Linked DNA regions of Homo sapiens: all the other regions are linked to region 3. Evidence: promoter capture Hi-C in 16 types of primary human blood cells and fetal thymus (Javierre and others, 2016). All regions are on one chromosome and are shown on one strand. Each heading gives the region's core, a stretch centred on a gene start or on the middle of the fragment in contact. The rest is flanking DNA. Distances are from core to core; before and after follow the strand shown. Region 1 holds the start of CCNT2-AS1 (CCNT2 antisense RNA 1). Region 2 holds the start of RAB3GAP1 (RAB3 GTPase activating protein catalytic subunit 1). Region 3 holds the start of CXCR4 (C-X-C motif chemokine receptor 4).

Region 1 (2,700 bases), core at 159-2,658, 1.2 Mb after region 3:
CGTGATATACGTTTACCGTTAATTCAGAACACTAAATCCAACAACGCAATGACCAACTTTTTTTCTGCGTATCGATTTACCCTCAAATTTGCGGACAGTAAAAACAGACAACTAGTACTTACATTTTTGTTGAATTTGGTGAAAGAATGGTGCATATAAAACCTGTGCATATAAACAATCGCAGTGTTTATTGTAAGCTGAGAGCTGGAACGTAATATTTAGGAAATATCTGACAAAAGCAAGATCTCATTCCCAGAACAATTTTGATGGAAAATTCCCAGGTTCTTTTCCAATACCTCCCATTCAAATCCAAACCCCAAACTGGAAATAAAGAAATAAATGCCCGCGGGGGGTGGGGCGGCAGGAAGAGAATAGGCTTGACGCCAAATAAATGGGAATAAGAACTGCTGATCTTTTCACTCTAACAGCGCTGAGGGCCCTGGAACTATTTATCAATGGCTACGACTAACTAAACTCAAAATGAAACAGTTGAAACGCGCGCGCACACACCCATACAAAACCACGCCAAGAACATAAAGAACTCCAGTACGCTCCCAAGGTAGAAGAGAGCCGCCATCAAGCCGGCGACGAGAGCCGGGAAAGGCTGCGGCAAACACTTAGGCCTTTCAGCATCGCTAACCCTCCTACCTCTCAAACCCTTCGGGGTCAGGGACAAGTCCAGGGAGCCGCCCCTTTTCTGCAATAATCCCTAAAATTCCTCTTTCGCCTGAGCCACACTCCCAACCCCCGCCGCCACCACCACGCGCTGCCCCAAACAGATTACACAACGCAGGCTCCTGGCCCGCATTCCTGGGGTCCTATCTCCTCCTCCCTTCCTCTGCTGACCCCTCGCGACTGCCCGAGCCGGAACATTACTTCCCTGACCGCGGCGCCGAGGCCCAGCGAAGGCCGAGGCCGGCGGCGCCATGTTCGCGGGGCACCAGGCCCGGCGACCGGGCAAGGGAAACAGGGCGTGAGCGGCGGCGAACAGAAAAGGATACACATTGAGACGCTGTCCCATCTCCTGGATGAGGTTGGCCGCCTGCTGGCGGCACGAGAGCTCTTTATCCGCCTCCACTCCGCAGCGGCGGCTCGGCGTGTTCTCCAGCTGTTCCCGAGTAAAGAACCAGCGAGAAGAAGCTCCACGGCCCGACGCCATGACACTTCCTCCTCCGCCCGCTCCTTCATTCACCCCCCGCCCCTCCTGGCTCGCGGACTCCCCGCCAAGGCGCGCGACCCCGCCCCACTCCGCTCGCCGTAGACCACGCACCACCCTTTTTCACCACCGCCTCCGCCCTTGCGCATGCGCGGGGCCCGCTCTACCGACTCGCCCTAGTCTTTTGCTTTCTTTTTCTGCCCTCGGCCTCGCTCTTGCGCACGGGACCACAATGCTCCGCGCCGCTTGTCATTGGGAGGCGCCGAAGGTGGAGAGGTCGGCTCGGAAGGAAAAGGTCGGCGCAGCGCATGCCGGGTCTAGGGTTGGCGGGGCGAAGGGGTGGGGAGGGAAGGGGCGGGGAGGGGAGGGGAGGGGAAAGTGGGAGAGGGTGGACTCTGGCCGGTGTGAAGAGAGGCGGTCGGGCGGCTGCGCTGTGGGGGCCTGGGCGTGTACTTCGGAGGCCCGTCGGGCGCTTCCTTTAGACGGGAGGTCTAGCGGCCCTTTAAAAAGAGAAAAATAACCTTCACTGTCGCAGCCTCACGCCACTACTTCCATTTTCCTTTTGGGCGGGTCCGCGCAGTCTCGTAGGCGTGCGACTCCGGCCTCCGCCACCAACAGTCTCCGCCTAGCGCGCGGCTCTGGCGTTGAGCTGGCGGGGAAAGAGTGCACAGGAAGTCACGCTCCATGGCTGTCCGCACCTGAGTGCTTTTTTCACCCTACATTATCTTGTTTAAATCCCAGACCACTTGGTTTATTTTTATTTTTTCAAATTACTTGGCAAACGCTATCCAACTAGCAACGAGAAATTGAATTTCTAAATGAGGTGTTGAATCTAGACGGGGCGTGTTTTCAGGCTGCGCTGTGGTTTCTGCGAGACAAGGTTGGGGAGAATCAGATAGTGCAGGAGGAACTGAGTTAAAATTTTATCTTTAGGATTTGATGTGGGAACATCCCACATACCTGTTGATTAACTCCTGTATTTCTTCCTGTAAGAAAATGCCACTGAGCTTCACTCGGAGTTTGTGTTGTGAATAGGGTTTCTAAGTTTAAAGTCTTAACTATTTGGAGGCCGGGCACGGTGGCTCACGCCTGTAATCTCAGCACTTGGGGAGGTCCAGTGGGCCGATCACTTGAGGTCAGGAGTTCGAGGGCAAGGGCAACATGGCGATACCCCGTCTCTACCAAAAATACAAAAATTAGCCAGGTTTGGTGGCGCGCCTGTAGTCCCAGCTACTCCCGAGGCTGAAGTGGGAGGATGGCTTGAGCCCAGGAGGTGGAGGCTGCGGTGAGCTAGATCTCGCTGCTGCACCCCAGCTTGGGCGATAGTGCAAGACCTTGTCTCGAAAATAAAAAATAAAGTAATATCTATTTGCCAAAGACCATGGAGGCAAGTGATTGTTATGGGGCTCCCACGCTCAGCATACTGCATTGCACAAGAATATTGATTATAGTAGGCAGTTTTTGTAACAGTTGCTATTTCATACTCACTTCCCTTGCTTTACGTTTTATGTTGCTTACAATTTCTGGAATAGATTGATTTAAAG
Region 2 (2,700 bases), core at 157-2,656, 1.1 Mb after region 3:
ACTCAATGAAGTCTTGCCAGTGTGGTTATGTCTTACTGACACTTTTATGAAGGGTACCACAGGTCTAACTATTATTCCAACAAGGACCTTTTATATTTTCCTGTGCCACCTAATGACACGACATCCACAAATTTCCTCTCCCAACCAGAAAGATTATAAAATGCTGTAACAGCGTAAACACTGACTTCAACACCCAGGAAACTGAAGGGTTTCTGTGACACTTAACAGAAACCTTCTCGATCTAAGCTATCACTCCTCCACAAACTTGGCTTTCAACTAATTTCAGTAATAGAACAGTTTCACCCAGACAGCTGTTCATCTGAATTTGACAGGCACAGGAAGCCTGGGCACAGTACCCACTTTAATGTAACAACTTAAATCAAAGCATTCCAAAACCATATGCAGACTTTTTAAAAAGGTTATTCTAAAAGACAGGATGGGCGGAGGCTCACGCCTGTAATCTCAGCACTTTGGGCGGCCCAGGCTTGAGCCCAGGAGTTCAAGACTAGCCTGGGCAACACAGCGAGATCTTTAAAAAATTAGTTGGGCGTAATAGCGCGTGCCTGTGGTCCCAGCTCCTCCCGAGGCTAAAGCGGGAGCTTCACTTGAGCCTAGGAGTTCGAGGCCGCAGTAAGCTATGACCTCGCCACTGCACTCCGGCCTGGGCGGACAGACTGAGACTCTGTCTCCAAAAATAAATAAAAATAAAAAATTAAAGACAGCATGGAGATGGTGGGAGTGTGACAGATGGACAACTACCAATACTCTGAAGAAAGACTTCCTCCTGAAAAGGGTATACCAACGTACACGGGATGAGGTGCGGCACAACCTACCAAGTTTACTGCTTACGATAATGAGTTAAACGGTAATGAAAACCGGAACGGTTGTTGCAGCCTCGGAAATTTTTCTTGCGAGTGGGTAACAACCAGAAAACCAAAGTCTAAGGGAAGCGGTCTGACAGGAGAGAAAACAAAACTTTCTGAGAGCCTGAGCCTCAGGGATTGGCTGACGGGGGCGGGCCGGGTGTTGCCAGACGCGAGACGCGGAAGAGGCTTGCGGTTGACCAAAGAAGACTGGGGGAGGAGACCCGGGACCCACGGTATTACCGTTCCCGCACAAGTGGCGTCACTTGTGGTGTGTCTGGGGTCAGGGAAGCGGCTAGGGGACGCCAGGGCCCATGGGAGCTGGTAACCAAAAATGCGATTCACTCACCTTTCCCATTCCGAGGCAGTGGTGAAGTCCGTGATCTCAAATACCTCGGATTCGGGCTGCGGGAAGGGGAAGGAGAGAAAAAGAAATTAAGCCCCAAGGCGAAGACATGAGGAACGAATTTAGATAGTGACAAGGATTAAGTAGGGAGCAAAGAAATCACCTCACTGTCGGCAGCCATCTTGAGGAGCGCCGGGCCTGGCGCTAAGGCTGCCGGGAAGAAGAGCGAAAGAGAACGGGGCGCGTCCCCGCCCCCGGAGCCCCCGCCCCCTGTTCATGAGTCTTGCCCTAGTAAGTAGGAGTGCTGCTTCTTCGCCCAGGTCTGTTAAGTCTTTAGTCCGCCCTCAGCTGGTTAATAAAACTCCGCTCTAGCTGGTTTCATAAAACTTGAAAATTTCCTGTGATGAATACAGAAAGGGAACAGAAGCCAAGGTGATAGGACAAGACCCTAAACTCATGTGGATAAGATTGTATTAAAAAACCTAAAGCATGTTGGGTTTGTTTTCATTCAACCCATATTTGTAGTTAGTACCAATTAGCTTACACTTTAACTATTGGGTTTCTTTTCATTCACCCTCTATTTATTGATTGTAAGGCAATAAACTAGGTGCTGTAATACCACTTCTACCCTCTGCCCCTGACCCTGCAAGAAGTTGCTCAGTTGATTGTCCTGAAATAAAATCATACTAGTTACCTGGTTTCTGGGAAGAGCAACATGGTGTTCAACAAACGCTTCATTTTTTTTTTTTTTTTTTTTTTTTTTTTTTTTTTTTTGAGACGGAGTCTTGCTCTGTCGCCCAGGCTGGAGTGCAGTGGCACGATCTTGGCTCACTGCAAGCTCCGCCTCCCGGGTTCACGCCATTCTCCTGCCTCAGCCTCCCGAGTAGCCGGGACCACAGGCGCTCGCCACCACGCCCGGCTAATTTTTTGTATTTTTAGTAGAGATGAGGTTTCATCGTGTTAGCCAGGATGGTCTCGATCTCCTGACCTCATGATCTGCCCACCTCGGTTCTGTCGCCAGGCTGGAGTGCAGTGGCGCGATTTCGGCTCACTGCAATCTCTGCCTCCTGGGTTCAAGTGATTCTCATGCCTCAGCCTCCCGAGTAGCTGGGATTACAGGCATGCGCCACAACACCCAGCTAATTTTTGTATTTTTGGTAGAGATGGGGTTTCACCATGTTGGCCAGGATGGTCCCGATCTCCTGACCTTGTGATCCGCCCCCCTCGGCCTCCCAAAGTGCTGGGATTACAGGTGTGAGCCACTGTGCCTGGCCTTGTCTTTATTTTAACACCTTCAAGTTATTTATATATATTCTGCATCTGAGCTTTATATTGTTTATATATGTAGCAAATACCTTCTCCCACTCTGCAGCTTGCTTTTTCACTATTTTTTTTTCAGACTGGTGCTCTAAAAAAGCAGACACTACAATTCCAAGCTGGCGAAGTCTCTGAAGTCCAACTGGAAGTGCTAGGGCAAAAATTATGCATCAG
Region 3 (2,700 bases), core at 187-2,686:
TGCCTCCGAACTACCTCTGGAACACTCCAGACTGAAATGTTTCCTCTTTTGATATAGAAAAGAGGGATCGTGTGTAGAGTGCAGTCTGGGCAATCCCTCTCCTCGGGACCATTTCGGGGTGGGGGCCTCTGGGGTCCGTGTCGCGACGCACGCGCCTCGGTCCCAGCTATCTCCGCAGCGGCCACCCCGCCTGCGGACGCAGTTTCTCGGCCCCGCCCCACACTCGCTCCCCCGCCCCACCCAGTCTCCGCGCCGGAGGGAAGTGGCGCGAGGGGGAAAGCACTGTCTGCGCGCCCACTGCAAACCTCAGCCAGTCTGAGATCGCTTTAAACGTCTGACCCCCACCCCCACTCCGCCCCGCCCAGTTCTTCAACCTAATTTCTGATTCGTGCCAAAGCTTGTCCTCTGCTCAAAATCGTGGAAGACGCCGAGTATGGGGACCGAAGACCTGGGTTCAAGCCCGGCTTGGAATCCCTGCCCATCCCTGGCATTTCATCTCTCCGGGCTTATTTGCTGGTTTCTCCGAATGCGGGCCTTGTCTGGTTCACGCTGGATCCCCAACGCCTAGAACAGTGCGTGGCACGCAGTTCGTCCTTCTATAAATATCGGACTAAATGCATCTCTGTGATGGTAATACCCACACGGTGTTGTGAGAATGAATGAGTGATTCTGTGCAAGTTCCTAGTGATCTGTTACAAAAAGTACTGGTCGCTAAATTACTCTTATAATAAAGCATACTTTTAGGATAATAAAGCACTATTCGCGAATTGGTTACCGCTATTATGAAATTACTGAGCAATACATATCTACATCTGATCAGTCTCCAGAATTATGCCAAATCCTACCTTCTTCTGAAAGTATCTCCTAATTATCTGCACCTGACCCTAGTGATGCTGTGAATGTGCAAGTATAGCTACATCCTCCGAAGGAAGGATCTTTACTCCTTTTACCTCCTGAATGGGCTGCGTCTGCTGAAAGCGCGGGGAATGGCGTTGGAAGCTTGGCCCTACTTCCAGCATTGCCGCCTACTGGTTGGGTTACTCCAGCAAGTCACTCCCCTTCCCTGGGCCTCAGTGTCTCTACTGTAGCATTCCCAGGTCTGGAATTCCATCCACTTTAGCAAGGATGGACGCGCCACAGAGAGACGCGTTCCTAGCCCGCGCTTCCCACCTGTCTTCAGGCGCATCCCGCTTCCCTCAAACTTAGGAAATGCCTCTGGGAGGTCCTGTCCGGCTCCGGACTCACTACCGACCACCCGCAAACAGCAGGGTCCCCTGGGCTTCCCAAGCCGCGCACCTCTCCGCCCCGCCCCTGCGCCCTCCTTCCTCGCGTCTGCCCCTCTCCCCCACCCCGCCTTCTCCCTCCCCGCCCCAGCGGCGCATGCGCCGCGCTCGGAGCGTGTTTTTATAAAAGTCCGGCCGCGGCCAGAAACTTCAGTTTGTTGGCTGCGGCAGCAGGTAGCAAAGTGACGCCGAGGGCCTGAGTGCTCCAGTAGCCACCGCATCTGGAGAACCAGCGGTTACCATGGAGGGGATCAGTGTAAGTCCAGTTTCAACCTGCTTTGTCATAAATGTACAAACGTTTGAACTTAGAGCGCAGCCCCTCTCCGAGCGGGCAGAAGCGGCCAGGACATTGGAGGTACCCGTACTCCAAAAAAGGGTCACCGAAAGGAGTTTTCTTGACCATGCCTATATAGTGCGGGTGGGTGGGGGGGGAGCAGGATTGGAATCTTTTTCTCTGTGAGTCGAGGAGAAACGACTGGAAAGAGCGTTCCAGTGGCTGCATGTGTCTCCCCCTTGAGTCCCGCCGCGCGCGGCGGCTTGCACGCTGTTTGCAAACGTAAGAACATTCTGTGCACAAGTGCAGAGAAGGCGTGCGCGCTGCCTCGGGACTCAGACCACCGGTCTCTTCCTTGGGGAAGCGGGGATGTCTTGGAGCGAGTTACATTGTCTGAATTTAGAGGCGGAGGGCGGCGTGCCTGGGCTGAGTTCCCAGGAGGAGATTGCGCCCGCTTTAACTTCGGGGTTAAGCGCCTGGTGACTGTTCTTGACACTGGGTGCGTGTTTGTTAAACTCTGTGCGGCCGACGGAGCTGTGCCAGTCTCCCAGCACAGTAGGCAGAGGGCGGGAGAGGCGGGTGGACCCACCGCGCCGATCCTCTGAGGGGATCGAGTGGTGGCAGCAGCTAGGAGTTGATCCGCCCGCGCGCTTTGGGTTTGAGGGGGAAAACCTTCCCGCCGTCCGAAGCGCGCCTCTTCCCCACGGCCGCGAGTGGGTCCTGCAGTTCGAGAGTTTGGGGTCGTGCAGAGGTCAGCGGAGTGGTTTGACCTCCCCTTTGACACCGCGCAGCTGCCAGCCCTGAGATTTGCGCTCCGGGGATAGGAGCGGGTACGGGGTGAGGGGCGGGGGCGGTTAAGACCGCACCTGGGCTGCCAGGTCGCCGCCGCGAAGACTGGCAGGTGCAAGTGGGGAAACCGTTTGGCTCTCTCCGAGTCCAGTTGTGATGTTTAACCGTCGGTGGTTTCCAGAAACCTTTTGAAACCCTCTTGCTAGGGAGTTTTTGGTTTCCTGCAGCGGCGCGCAATTCAAAGACGCTCGCGGCGGAGCCGCCCAGTCGCTCCCCAGCACCCTGTGGGACAGAGCCTGGCGTGTCGCCCAGCGGAGCCCCTGCAGCGCTGCTTGCGGGCGGTTGGCGTGGGTG

Evidence for each region. Contacts are between HindIII fragments. The CHiCAGO score rates a contact against its expected background, and 5 or more counts as called.
Region 1: the fragment with the promoter of CCNT2-AS1 here is called in contact with the fragment with the promoter of CXCR4 in region 3 in 1 of 17 cell types (fetal thymus); the score reaches 7.5 in fetal thymus.
Region 2: the fragment with the promoter of RAB3GAP1 here is called in contact with the fragment with the promoter of CXCR4 in region 3 in 2 of 17 cell types (fetal thymus and monocytes); the score reaches 5.7 in fetal thymus.

Annotation. Positions count from the first base shown.
Region 1 is chr2:134,917,314-134,920,013 of GRCh38, reverse strand. CCNT2-AS1 (CCNT2 antisense RNA 1) reads left to right here and starts at 1,408. Exons shown (of 5, transcript NR_036549.1): 1 at 1,408-1,451. CCNT2 (cyclin T2) reads right to left here and starts at 1,192. Exons shown (of 9, transcript NM_058241.3): 1 at 1,002-1,192; 2 at 123-204. The coding sequence starts at 1,159. RefSeq lists enhancers at 593-682, 893-1,162, 1,313-1,472, 1,550-2,223, 2,233-2,282 and a silencer at 1,483-1,552. The HindIII fragment of the contact is 7,926 bases long and covers 1-2,700 here.
Region 2 is chr2:135,050,998-135,053,697 of GRCh38, reverse strand. RAB3GAP1 (RAB3 GTPase activating protein catalytic subunit 1) reads right to left here and starts at 1,406. Exons shown (of 24, transcript NM_012233.3): 1 at 1,373-1,406; 2 at 1,213-1,268. The coding sequence starts at 1,390. RefSeq lists an enhancer at 694-833. The HindIII fragment of the contact is 10,130 bases long and covers 1-2,700 here.
Region 3 is chr2:136,116,885-136,119,584 of GRCh38, reverse strand. It overlaps CXCR4 (C-X-C motif chemokine receptor 4), which reads left to right and starts at 1,436. Exons shown (of 2, transcript NM_003467.3): 1 at 1,436-1,539. The coding sequence starts at 1,525. RefSeq lists an enhancer at 2,445-2,514 and a silencer at 2,645-2,700. The HindIII fragment of the contact is 7,141 bases long and covers 1,002-2,700 here.